Regions from separate parts of the Homo sapiens genome. Here region 2 is linked to region 1. Evidence: promoter capture Hi-C in 16 types of primary human blood cells and fetal thymus (Javierre and others, 2016). All regions are on one chromosome and are shown on one strand. The core of a region is centred on a gene start or on the middle of the fragment in contact, and the rest is flanking DNA. Distances in the headings are between cores, read along the strand shown.

Region 1 (6,533 bases), core at 2,020-4,519:
AAGGCCCTGCACTGCGACAGAACCCCTTTGCGGGACTGGAATGACCTCCTGACCACTCCCTCCCGGGCTGCTCTCTCCACATCTCCTGGAATTCTCTGTGAGCCTCCTTCAGCCTTTTCCCTGTGCCTGATCCATGAATCACACGTGAACCTGATGGACACAGACGCCCTGAGCTGTGACTCCATGTCTCATGTGCACGCCCTGGCCAGCTGAACCTCGAGCTGTCACCAACACCTCTAAGTGCCTGATGCCCTCTCTGCACCTTTCCATTTCTCCAGGAGCTTGGCATTGCTTCCTTCAACGTTTTCACAGGGAGGAGCAGGTCCAGGACTCCCCTGCACCTTTGCCACCATAATGGCCCACACTCCCCGGGTCCAGGAGTGCAGAATATGTGGCTGCTTCCATTTGCTGAGTGTGTCAATTCAATGATGCTTTCGAACTTTAAGAAATGACAATACATAGATTCTGGACCTATCATGCCCACTAAGTCAGACCTGGGTGAAAACTCCATTGTTCCCTGATCTCCACAGGCCTTTGCTCAGAATAGTGGACTAAGCCCCAGGCTGGGCCTCTCAGGACTGGGGTCCCTGCAGAAGAGGATCCAGGATTCCCCCCAAAACCTGACAATTCCGTTCCTTATGTAGACACATCCTGGCCAGTGTCTTCTGGTCCCTGCGGGAGGGCTGGTAGAAGATTATCAGTGTGAGTTGTGGCATGGTAGCCAGGCCTTTCCTTCCTCCTTCCTCAAGGGGACCTGACCTCCCCTTCATTCCAGGGCTGTGGCTTTTAACTGACTCAAATATGGAAATTGGTTGAGGGCCGTGACTTCTTAATGTGGTAGTTAACTGAGTCTTTTGCTTACTAGTGCAGACCATGTCTGCTTATCCAGACAAAGGAAGACGTTATCAGCTGACCATCGTTTCGGTTCCAGGGATGCCACACCCAAGACCCCTGTGAGGCAGATGATCCCCATGAGTCCACCAGGTCAAGGAGGGACACGCCTGGGGGTCCTCACCTATTTTTACATTCAGCAGATACTTATGGGAGCTTCTGGTGTATCAGACACTGACCTGGCATTGGAGTCCAGCCGTGAACACCCAGGCAAGGAGCTCTGTTTTCATTGAGCTCATATTCCAGGCGGGGGATAGAAATGATAAACAGATGCAAAAATACGTGCATAAATTCCAGAAGAAATATAAAAGTCAGAGATGAAAAGAGTCACGGAATGAAATAAGAGAAGTGGGGTGACTGCTGTGCAGGAGCTGAGGGGGACTGTGGTGAAGCCCCTCTAATAGGCGCTGAGCAAGCAGGGATCAGGAGAAAGGAGGGGGTGAGCGCCAGGATCCCTGGAGGAGGAGCCCTGAGGCAGAGAGAGGAGCAGGTGCACATGTCCTGCCAGGGGCAGATGCCTCCCTGGGTCAGGTGGCTTCAGGGCCTCCAGACAGCATTTCCTGTCTCCTCCCCAGCCTGGGCAGGAAATGGTGCACCAACTTTGGATGACTAAGTCCTCTGAGGCAGTGGGACATCAGGATGTCATGTATCCATTCACCCATTCATCCTTTCAACAGCCAGTTTGTTAAACTGCACTTGGCAGACTCTGGAATGATAACGGGCACAGCTGTGAATGAGACAAGAGGCTGCACCTGCTCTCAAGGGGCGGCCACCCTAGATGGGAGCAGACATTGACTCGCCAACAGAAAGACTGAGGAAGACGAGAGGGAAGTGTGAAATGGGTCATGAGGACCCCTAAAAAGCGAGCCACCATAACCCGGGAAGGTCAAGGAACACGCAGGCAACCCTGTCGGCTGGAGCCAGGCAGAGGAGTGGGAGGTTGAGGGTCTGGACAAAGGCCCGAGTGGGGAGGGTGGCAGCACCAGTGTGAACCTGGATCCAGGAGGCTGGAGACACCTACCAGGTGCTGGGGCCTGCCAGGACCTGTGTGCAGAGGCCAGGTCAGGTGGGTGCCATCCTGTGACAGCAGGAGCCATTGGGAGTTCAGCAGCGCCTCCCCAGGGCCATGTGTGTGTGTCAGGGATCACATTGCTGATTCTGTGGAGAATGAAAGGGGTGGGTATGAGCAGAAGGGGAGACCAGGTCAGCCCATGAAAGAGCCGGGATACTTCAAAGCCAGGCCCAGGCCAGACCTGAGCACTGGGCTAATTGGAGGCCCTGGGATTGCACTGGGCTAGAGATAGTCCCATGATGTGAGTCTGGGGGCATCAACACCAATGACCCCAGTGCATGCTGTGTCCCTGAGAGTGTAAATGGAGGGAGGACAGGGCAGGTCGAGGGTGCAGAGACCCCTTCATGGTGCCAGGTTTGCCCAGACTCCCATCACTCTCCACTCAACCTCATGGCTGTGTGCACATACTGGTGCTATTGACTCTGATAGGAAGAAAGGAACAGAAATCTGTAGGAGGGTTGGGAGAGTCAAGGAATATGCTTAAGGCATGAGAAGGTGGAGAAGGGGTGATGCCCTCCAGGACAGACAGGAGGTAAATCCTGTGTCTGACTAGCCTCCTTGCCCTTTCCAGGGTAAAGACACCCTGAGCCCATCACGTCAGGAGAACCAGCCATGCCGAGTGTGGATAGACCTGGGTTCCCGCCTCCTGGGAAGGCCTGTCTGCCATGTCTGCTCCCTGCGGAGGCCCCTGGCCATCACAGTGGACCCAGGATAGACACCAGCAGCCGCTGCTCATGACAAACTGTCCTCTCAGTCACCAAACACCCCTCCGTGTGCCCTGGGGTGTGTGCTGGCTCAGTCGCAGCCTCACATCCTCCACAAAGTCCCACTTCAGCATCTTCACATGTCTGAACTCTCTCTCTATTCTCAGTTCTCTGCCCTGATTCCCACTGGGGCATGGATTTTGGCAAGAAGACAAGATGGAAAAGGAGGGTCTCGGGTGGGTGATGCCGCTGTGTGTGTAGGTCTGGGGGCAGGGGCACAAGAGGAAAACTCCCCAAGCCTGTGGGATTTTAACCTGGTTGGGGACTCAGCACCAAAAAGGGACATGCAGATGGTGTCTGGGTTCATAGCGCTAACTTCTGAGGCCAGAAGAAGAGCTGGGGGTCTTAGGGGCAGAGGTCTCTGCGGGGACCTAGCTGAAGATTAAGGGACACAACCTCTCTCTGGTCACCTCCAAGGCTAAAGAAGGTGGCAGATTTAGCCTCCAACCACAAGATTGTCCATCCTGACCAGGAAGTGACATGTCACAGAGGGTGGAGCAGCCCATGTGGTAGGAAATGGCCCAGCTTGGCTCTGCCTTCTGCAGTGTGAGTAACACACTGAAGCCAGAAGCTGTGGGCTGTGGGGAAGTGGCTGCATCGCCACCCAAGGGACCCTGGACTTTGCCAGACGTCAGGGTTGAGAGGAGCCACTAGCACCATCCCAGAGCTGTCAGCACCGGCCTCAGCCCAGGCGGCTCTCTCCCTGAGCTTCCTGTACCCTGACCCTCTCCAGCCTCAGACCTGAGACAGGGCTGGACAAGGAAGCAGAGAGCAGAAGAAAAGCAGAAGCGAAGCTCAGATCTGCTGGGAGGAGATTACATTTTGTCCCCTCCTGGGGTCTTGCACAGTGGCAGGTGACATTCGTGTTACAGGAATGACTGCCAGGGCCTGGGCCTCGTGGCGGTCTTCAGCTCTGCTCCTCCTGCTTGTCCCAGGTGAGTGGGCCGACCCTGGACTTGGGGAGCTCTGTCCTGAGTGGGAGAGGGCAGGGAGGGGTGCAGGCGCTGGAGTAGCGGTCATAGAGGGGAGTGGGGCAGGGAGAGGGGAGGAGGGCAAAGGAGCACCCAGGAGCGGTCAGCAGCTGCCTCACCAGGGGACAGCAGGCGGCAGGGCACAGCACGGGGGAGGCCTATTCCTCTGTGCCCGAGACAGGAAGCCCTGGTGGGAGGTGATGCTGTGACTGTCATTGCCAAAGTTATCCAATCACAAATTTTATCTGGGACGATCACACACACAGTCACACTCACACGCACACACGGTCACACTCACACAGTCTCACACACATGCACACACAGTCACACTCACACAGTCTCACACACACATGCACACAGTCACACATGCACACACAGTCACACTCACATGCACACACAGTCACACATGCACACACAGTCACACACAGTCACACTCACACAGACAGTCACACTCACACAGTCACACACACAGAGTCACACTCACATGCACACACAGGCCCGCACACACCCAGTGTTTCCCTAGCCTTGCCTTTCCAGTCTCCATGGAAACTTCCCATGCCCTTCCCACCTCTGCACAGAGGGAGCCTCCCACCCTCAGTCCCTGTTCCTGGGTGGACAAAGGCTGCCTGCCTGCCATTGCCTTCTCCACACGCCCAGGGTCCATGAGGGGCTGACACTGCGGCACCCCTGACCAGGCCCCTCTGGTAAGGAGACAGGATTTTGGCTTGTATTTTTCAGGCTATTTTCCTCTGAGCCACCCCATGACCGTGGCGGGCCCCGTGGGGGGATCCCTGAGTGTGCAGTGTCGCTATGAGAAGGAACACAGGACCCTCAACAAATTCTGGTGCAGACCACCACAGATTCTCCGATGTGACAAGATTGTGGAGACCAAAGGGTCAGCAGGGAAAAGGAATGGCCGAGTGTCCATCAGGGACAGTCCTGCAAACCTCAGCTTCACAGTGACCCTGGAGAATCTCACAGAGGAGGACGCAGGCACCTACTGGTGTGGGGTGGATACACCGTGGCTCCGAGACTTTCATGATCCCATTGTCGAGGTTGAGGTGTCCGTGTTCCCGGGTGAGCCCCTCCTTTTCTCAGCACCAGGCCTGCCTGAGCCTAGGGCTGGTCATTCTGTCCCTGAAGAAAGAAGTGGAACAGGAGGGTGTGAGCCTGGGGGTTGGTGAGTCAGGACACTGTGTGCCGCTGTGTGTGGATGAGTGTGAGTGCGTCTTTGTGTATGCGTGCCTGCATAGGAGTTGTGGTGTGGTTTGTGTGTGTGTGCACCTGCATGTGTGTGTTGGGAGGGTGGGCGCCCACAAAAGCACCCTGGCCCTGTGGCTGGAGACCCCCCGCTGTGGGCCCTCCCTCACGGCCTCAGGCCTGAAACTTTCCTGGGTGGGGTCTGTGAGGCCACCCCTGACTCTGGGGTCCTTGCTACCTCCCTGTATTGACAAGGGCCGGATCCATACTGAAGGGTGCCCACTGTCCCGCCTGGGTCTAACTCGCTCTTCCCCACGGGGAATTGGACCCCCCCATCATTGGCTCCTCTCACTCAAGGCTGCCCCTGCCCTGGGGCCTGCATGGATGCCGCCCTGTCTGGAGGGTCCTGAGGCCGCAGCCTCACAGCCCTGTCCTGGGAGCTCCTGCAGCAGCCACTGGAGGACACAGGAAGGAGCCCCAGAGCCCTGGGTGGGGTTCTCATGCTCCTGGGAACCACATCCTGCCCCTGAGGCTGACCTGTGTGTCCCCCTTATTCTCTGGCACCTTTTACCACAGGAGGGAACCCCAGAAATTGCCCCCTCAGGCAAAGGGACCTGTGGATGGAAATGAGCTGAGACTGGCACGGACCTGAGGGCCCTTTCCCGTGCCGAAGATCATTCTTCCCTCAAAGGCCCCCTCCTGTCTCACAAGACACAAACCCAGTGGCCTCAGTGTGGTTGCTTTTCCATCGTTTTCTTCTGACAATGTCCCAGGTTCCTCGGAGCATCTTCTTGTTCTCCATTTCCCCGGGGGCGACGTGTCCCTCCTGCGCCCTTTGTGCCTTCCTATCTAGGAGTGAGGAGCTAAGATCCCACCTGAGGGCGCCAGGGAGAGGAGGAAAGGGCCCTTATCCAGCTGTATTCACCACGGGCCGCCGCCCAGGCTTCACCGGGCATCCCCTCTCTAGATCTTTCTTCCTGGGCATTCCCTCCTGCTGAGAGGATGGTCCAATGGCCTTGTGGGGCCGCAGCATGGCTGCCATTTGGGGCTGAGTGGACTCGGGTCCCATCGTTCAGGGAGGACCCCACTGACTTCCTGTCCTCACTTCCAGCCTCTCTCCAGCCACTGCTGTGCCCAGGGCCCTGGCTTCGCAGTCACTCTGGGTCACCCTTCGCAGAGTAAACATCACCCCATTCCCCCAGGTCACCCTGTCCCTCCCTGGCTGGGGTGAAACCTGGAGACCCGTACCTTTGCCACAGGTGAGCAGGGCAGCTCTCACATCTGAAATGGTGTCCTGGCTCTGCAGTACCTAGGGATGGGACAAGGAGAGGCCCAGGACCCTGGTCAGGCCTGGGTGTGGCCGTGGGGCATGATGGATGCAGGGCATCTGTCCAGCACATCATTGGTGACCTTGTCTGTGAAAATTGGAGCAGAACAGGTGAGAGTAAGTGGGAGACCCATGTGATGTCATCAAGGTTGACCTGTGTTTCACCCACAGCCGGGACGACCACAGCCTCCAGCCCCCAGAGCTCCATGGGCACCTCAGGTCCTCCCACGAAGCTGCCCGTGCACACCTGGCCCAGCGTGACCAGAAAGGACAGCCCCGAACCCAGCCCACACCCTGGGTAAGGTGCC
Region 2 (7,255 bases), core at 1,282-3,781, 45 kb before region 1:
TGGAGCAGTGTACACTGTACCCAATGTATGGTTTTTTATCCCTCATCCCCTGCATCCTTTCCCCTAAGTCCCCAAAATCCATTGTATCATTCTTGTGCCTTTGTATCTTCATAGCGCAGCTCCCACTTATAAGTGAGGATGTACAATATTTGGTTCTCCATTCCTGAGTTATTTCACTTAGAATAATGATCTCCAACTCCATCCAGGTTGCTGTGAATGCCATTATTTTGTTCCTTTTTGTGGCTGAATAGTATTCCATGGTGTATATGTACACCGCATTGTCTTTATCCACTCATTGCTTGATGGGCATTTAGGCTGGTTCCCTATGTTTTCAATCGCAAATTGTGCTGCTATAAACATGCGTGTACAAGTGTCTTTTTTGGAACTAGTTTTTTTGCCCAGGCTAGAGAGCAGTGGTGCAATCTGGGCTCACTGCAATCTCCACCTCCCAGGTTCAGGCGATTCTCCTGCCTCAGCCTCCTGAGTAGCTGGGATTACAGGCGTGTGCCACCACCTGGCTAATTTTTGTATTTTTAGTAGAGATGGGGTTTCTCCATGTTGGCCAGGCTGGTTTCGAACTCCTGACCTCAGGTGGTCTGTCCGCCTTGGCCTCCCAAAGTGCTGGATTACAGGCATGAGCCACCAGAGCTATTTTATATACTATTTACTCCTACATACTCTGAGGTCTCAGTTAGCTACACTTTATCTTGTTCTCAACTATGATTGGATAACCAAGAATCAGCAGACACTTGAGGAAGGCTCATAATATAGAAGAAGCAGACAACAAAACAAAGATGTGACCACTGAGTGGAGGGATATAGTTCAAGGAACAGAAGAGAGTTTGAAAACATCAGTAATCAAAGAACCAAAAAAACTTTTCGAAATAAAAATACAGTCTCTAAAATCAATATTTGATCCAAGGATTGGAAGGGAAAGTACAAGCATGAAATAAACAATATAAAAAGCTCCCCAAATGTAGAACAAAGCCCACAGATATGGAAAATATAAAACAGGAGAGAAAAAATGAATCGATTCAGGAGGGAAAGGGAGAGAAAGAGGGAAGGGACCATCTAAAGAAAGTGGGGAGAGACCGGGAAAGAAGTCAGTTCGGGCGTCAGCAGAACAAGTAGATTACAACAGCAGCCAGGGGAAAGTGTGCAGGGATAGGGAGGATGAAATCAGGGCAAGAGGAGGCTAACGAGAAAAGGCAATTTCTCCATTCCTGACCTTCCCCACTGAGCCCAGCTTTGGCTTCAGAGTGATTTCAGAGTGGCTTCAGAGTGACTCATGATCCCAGTGGAAGTGTTCCTGGGGGAAGGGGCAGTGGGTCAGACAGCCCAGGGCAGGAAGAGGCAATGAGATGTCTTACAGTGGGGCTGCCTGGAAGAAGCCTGGGGCATGGGCTTTCTCCAGCAAGGCTGGGTGTGAGTCCTGTGCACTGTGGTCTTCCCAAAGTGCTCCTCTCCCTGCACTCCTCATGGCTGGCCTTGTCCGTCCTCTCCTCCAGGCAGTAGATCCCGCAGCTCCTCAATGCTTGGGTTCCTCCTGGCTCCTCCTGCTCCTTGGCTCCTACGTGCACTCCCGTGCAAACCTGACCAGTCCCGGACACATTTTCTTTTCCACATGCACAAAAGTTTGGGCACACCTTGCAACATACACTGTACCTTAGTCTTTTCAAAGAATGACACCTCTTTTCTCCTAATATGTAAAAAGAGAAGTAGCTACAGATGTAACAGGAAGTGAGCAAGAGACTTGAAGGAGATTCGAGTAGGTTTGCGGTGTTGACTTCCGAGCTTGGATTCAAGTCCCTGAAGGGCACCAGACACCTGTGATCACCAAGGAGAGGAGAGGAGACAGGACCATGTGGCTGTCCCCATCTCTGCTGCTTCTCATCCTCCCAGGTGAGTGTGGCTGGAGCTTTAAGGCACTGGAATGACAGCGGCTGGCTTGGAGACAGAGACGCTCTGTTCTCAGGAAGGAGACATGTCAGGGAAAATGACAGCGCCAATTCATCCATCCATGCCCATATTCATTAAATAGCAATCAAGTTTTTGTTATCTGACAGGTTCTGTGTTAGATGCTGCAGAAACAAACACACACAAAACAAAACAAGTATAGCTTCTTGTTGGAACAGTGGTTCTCAACCCTGACTGTTCCATATAAACAGATGAATGAACAGATATCAATGAAGGAAGGAACTAATGAGTGAGTCCATTCTTGAAGAACTTTTTTTTTTTTTTTTTTTTGAGCTGGTGTCTCGCTCTGTCACCCAGGCTGGAGTGCTTCTTTCACTTAGCATGATGTTTCAAGGTTACTTTGTGTTGTAGCACAAATCAAAGCTTCATTCTTTTTCATGGCTGCATAGTATTTCACAGTGGATATACCACATTTGGTTTCTCCAGTCATTTGTCAATGAACCTTAGGGTTGTTTCTACCTTTTAAAAATTGTTAGTAATAATGTTATGAACTTTCATAGCACAGTTTTGTATGGAGATATGTTTTCAGTTCTCTTGGGTATATATCTAGGGGTAAAATGGCTGAATCCTATGTTAATTCTATGTTTAACTTTTTGAGGAAGCATCAAACCTTTTTCCCAAGGATTTATATTTGAGTACAGCTTTGGCTGTCATGTCAACAAATTTTGATACGTAGTGTTTTCATTTCTGTTAAAATGTAACAAATCTATGTGCTTCTCATATTATCTATACTCAGATCAAGCTTTGTAAGAAAATTTTTCCTTCCAATCTCAAATTTATTTTCTTTTAAAATAGATTATTATTATTATTATTATTATTTTTATTTTTTTTTTTTTTGTAGAGATGAGGACTCACTTTCATGCCCAGGCTGGTCTCAAACTCCTGGGCTCAAGTGATCCTCCCACTTTGGCCTCCCAAAGTGCTGGGATTATAGGTGTGAGCCACCATGCCTGGCTTCAAATTTATATTCTGTAAACAATTTTCAGATATATTCTCCTTCCTTTCCTTCCTTCTGAGACAGGGTGTGCTCTGTCACCCAATCTGGAGTACAGTGCTGGGATCAGGGTTCACTGCAGCCTTGACCTCCCAGGCTCAAGCCATCCTCCCACCTCAGCCTCCTGAGTGAGTAGCTGGGACTACAGGCATGTGGTGCGACACCCAGCTAATATTTATTTATTTATTTAGTCTCGCTATGTTGCCAGGGCTGCTCTCAAGCTCCAGGGCTCACGCGATTCTCCTGCCTCAGCCTCCCAAAGTTGTTATATTACAAGTGTGAGCTACCACACCCAGCTCTTATTTCTTATAAATAACTTCCAGATGTAGTTTTTCTTTAAATATTTACCTTAATTGTTGTCTTTCCATTCTGATGTAGAACTTTTTTCAGAGTGAACAAATGAAGCCCCTATACCCATCTTTCCCCAGGAGGTCGTGTGTAGTTTCTTAGTTCCCTTCAGATGCCATAGAAAGCAGATTTGGGCATGGAGTCCAATTTCTGTTCCAGGAATTCCTTGGGTTGTGGAGCTCTGCCTGTTTATGGTGAAATTGTCTTCCGCTCCCACCATGGTGACCCTGGTTTTTCAAGACATTCCAATGAAGTCTAAAGTTTTCATTCATCCAGGGGTAATAATAATAATAATAATAATAACAAACATAATATAGTAACATAGAGGTAGATGCCATTACTATTCCCACTTATAGAAAACGAAGTCACAGTGTATTAGTCCATTTTCACGCTGCTGATAAGGACATACCCGAGACTGAGTAAATTACACAGAAAAAGAGGTTTAATGGACTCACAGTTCCACATGACTGGGGAGGCCTCACAATCATGGTGGAAGGTGAAAGGCATGTATTATATGGCAGCAGGCAAGAGAGAGAATGAGAGCCAAGTGAAAGAGGTTTCCCATTATAAAACCATCAGCTCTCATGAGACTTATTCACTACCACGAGAACAATGTGGGGGAAACCGCCCCATGATTCAATTAACTCCCAACTGGTGCCCCCCACAACATGTGGAAATTATGGGAGCTACAATTCAAGATGAGATTTGGGTGAGGACACAGACAAACCGTATCACACAGAGAGGTTAATTTGCCCAGGTTCACAAAACTTATCAGTGGTAGAGCCAGGATTCAAACCCAAGCACTCTGGCACAGCCTGAGCTCTTACCCACGACCTTGGGTGTCTCTTGGCGTTTCAGAGACAACCTCTCTCCTGCCACAGGAATTGCCCCCAGGGCTTCTTCAAGTGCTCCAATGTGCTTCTAGTTCCATCTCAAGTTTATGCTGCACTAATCACAGCTATGGTTTATTGCCAGTGCATAAATCATCAAAATCAATCGTTTCTTTAGATGGGTCTCCCTTTAGGTCAGTTGAATTTAAAGAATTTCTGGCAAAGCTCTCACTTAAGGTATTTCCACTGTTTTGAATTGTTTTCAAGTGAAAGATTAGGCTGACAAGTTCATGGAGACTAGTCTTGTCCTGGATCAAATTGTTTGAAAAGTGGAGCTAATTAGGTATGCCCGTTCCTCACCCTTTAACTGACTTGAATCATGTCCATTATGTTTAGAGAAGAACTTATAAGATGCAGAAGGGTGTTGAATGGGTGCTGCTCTGTTTATACCTAACCTTTACTTGTGTTTATCTTAAAAGTTAGCTTTTCCTAGGAATTTTGGAAGTGGAATTTATAACACTGTATGGCGAAATGGAGATCTGTGTGATGTGGATCCCATAGCAGATAGAGACCAGTTGGCATCACTATTTGGTTGATTTCAAAGGGATTCATTCAGGGTGATTAACTACAGCAGAGCCACCAGAAACCATTAGAACCACTAGGAACAGCCAAGCATCAAGGCAGCAATCATTCTTCTGGAAAAGGGCCTTCTGCCATTTCCTCCCCATCAGACCAGTATAACACAAAGATGGTTGCCAAAGAGCATTCCTTGGAATATAAAGATTTGCTGGCCATAGGGAAAGAGAGAGGGGTGAACTGCAGGAAGCTATTATTGCTCAATGCCAACATTTGTGTTTCTTTGGGGATCTGCAGTTGTGCTCTTCAGTGATTTTCCTGGTGACTTTGACCCAGTGGAATTTTGAAGGACAAAGATTTGTCTTGAGGAAAATGTATTGCTTCCTTGACTGTTATAAGGCAGTTGGATTTGGCTGCTACTCCCAATGCACGAGGCTGTGGCCCTGCCCTTGGGGTGGGAGGTGACGACACATGAATTTGCGTTTTCCAGGTTACTCCATTGCCGCTAAAATCACTGGTCCAACAACAGTGAATGGCTCGGAGCAGGGCTCATTGACTGTGCAGTGTGCTTATGGCTCAGGCTGGGAGACCTACTTGAAGTGGCGGTGTCAAGGAGCTGATTGGAATTACTGTAACATCCTTGTTAAAACAAATGGATCAGAGCAGGAGGTAAAGAAGAATCGAGTTTCCATCAGGGACAATCAGAAAAACCACGTGTTCACCGTGACCATGGAGAATCTCAAAAGAGATGATGCTGACAGTTATTGGTGTGGGACTGAGAGACCTGGAATTGATCTTGGGGTCAAAGTTCAAGTGACCATTAACCCAGGTAAGAGGGAGTGTATATACGTGTGTGTCTCTCAGGTCCTGCTCTGTCCTGGTCCCTGAGGTCCCACTTGAGTAAATTAACTGTCACTCAGAGTGACCTGTGACAGAGGGTGTCTGAGTCCTGAGGTCTTGCTATGGTTTGAATATTTGTCCCTCCAAAACTCGTGTTGAAACTTAATCCCCAATGTGGCAGTATTGAGAGACAAGGCCTTTAAAAGGTGACTGGGTCATGGGGGCAGAGTTCCCATGAATGAATTAATCCATTCGTGGATTAAAGGATGAATGGGTTATCATGGGAATGGAACTGCTTTATAAGAAAAGGCAGACAGACCTGACTTAGCATACTCAGTTCCGCCACCACGAGGTGCCTGGAGCCACCTTGGGACTCTGCAGAGAGTCCCTGCCATCAAGAAGGCCCTCACAAGATGTGGCTCCTCAACCTCGGACATCTTAGCCTCCATAACTGTAAGAAACAAATTCCTTTTCCTTATAAATGACTCAATTCCAGATATTCTGTTATAAGCAAGAAAAAGTAGACTAAGACAGGTCTCATAGGACCCTGAAGGACCGCTTGGGATTGAGGGGATCTCTTAATGACCCCATGGCTCCCAGGGCTCCCTCCAGGATGGGATTAAGTCTTTCTAGGCACATTTTTTTTTTCTCTGCACAGCTCAGTGCCTGAGTCTGTTGCCCACAGATGACAGGGTGATGGTTCCAGTTTCAGCCCACAGGCCAAAGGGACCCCCTTCCCTGGTAACCAGAGACCCCAATCCCTGCCAGTGCCTTCTTGGAACTTCTTTATAGCACTAAGTCCCTGTATCAGAAAAGGAGAAGGGCCTCAAGTCAATGGCCTTAGCTCAAGATACTAGGGAAAAAAAAGATCAAAGTAAACTCAAAGCAAACATCAGAACACAGATAATATTAAGACCACAATGAAAAATTAATGAAATCGAAAACAAAAGTAATAGGGAAAAATCAATGAAATGAGATATGTTTTCTGTGAAAACATCAGAAACACTGTTAAACCTCTACCTAGACTGATCAGGAAAAAGATATAAATTACTAACATCAGAAATGAGAGAGGTAACATTACAACAGATTTTATAGCTACTAAAAGAATAATAAGGGAATATGTGTCGTAAACAACTTTTATGCCAATATATTCAACAAGTTAAATGAAATGGAAAAACATCCTTGAAAGGCACAAACTACCAGTCACAAGAAGAAATAGATAACTGGAATAGCTCTATATCTTTTAATGAAATAGAATTTGTCATTTGCCATCTTCTCACGAAGAAAATTTCAGGCTCAGATGGCCCTTTGGTGAGTTCAGGACCGGATAATATCAATTTTTTTTTTTTTGAGATGGAGTTTCGCTCTTGTTGCCTGGGCTGGAGTGCAATGGCACGATCTCGGCTCACCACAACCTCCACCTCCTGGGTTCCAGAGATTCTCTTGCCTTAGCCTCCCGAGTAGCTGGGATTACAGGCATGCACCACCATGCCCAGCTAATTTTGTATTTTTAGTAGAGACAGGGTTTCTCCATGTTGGTCAGGCTGGTCTCGAACTCCCAACCTCCGTAAAGAAGGGTGTAACTGGCAGGTAATAAGCAGTAGCTGAGCAATATATTCTCCTGGTTCAAAAACCCAAAGACCTTGTGACATTACCACTACTTGAATTTCTCCTTCATAATCAGAATCAAT

The links. Contacts are between HindIII fragments. The CHiCAGO score rates a contact against its expected background, and 5 or more counts as called.
Region 2: a fragment that was not itself captured here is called in contact with the fragment with the promoter of CD300C in region 1 in 1 of 17 cell types (monocytes); the score reaches 6.3 in monocytes.

The regions. Positions count from the first base shown.
Region 1 is chr17:74,542,851-74,549,383 of GRCh38, reverse strand. CD300C (CD300c molecule) reads left to right here and starts at 3,269. Exons shown (of 4, transcript NM_006678.5): 1 at 3,269-3,662; 2 at 4,437-4,775; 3 at 6,397-6,523. The coding sequence starts at 3,602. It also overlaps a transcript of LOC107985074 not described here. The HindIII fragment of the contact is 25,491 bases long and covers 1-6,533 here.
Region 2 is chr17:74,586,809-74,594,063 of GRCh38, reverse strand. CD300LD (CD300 molecule like family member d) reads left to right here and starts at 1,781. Exons shown (of 4, transcript NM_001115152.2): 1 at 1,781-1,901; 2 at 5,215-5,553. The coding sequence starts at 1,862. CD300LD-AS1 (CD300LD antisense RNA 1) reads right to left here. Exons shown (of 3, transcript NR_171003.1): 2 at 3,319-3,545; 3 at 1-2,080. RefSeq lists an enhancer at 1,748-1,877. The HindIII fragment of the contact is 379 bases long and covers 2,342-2,720 here.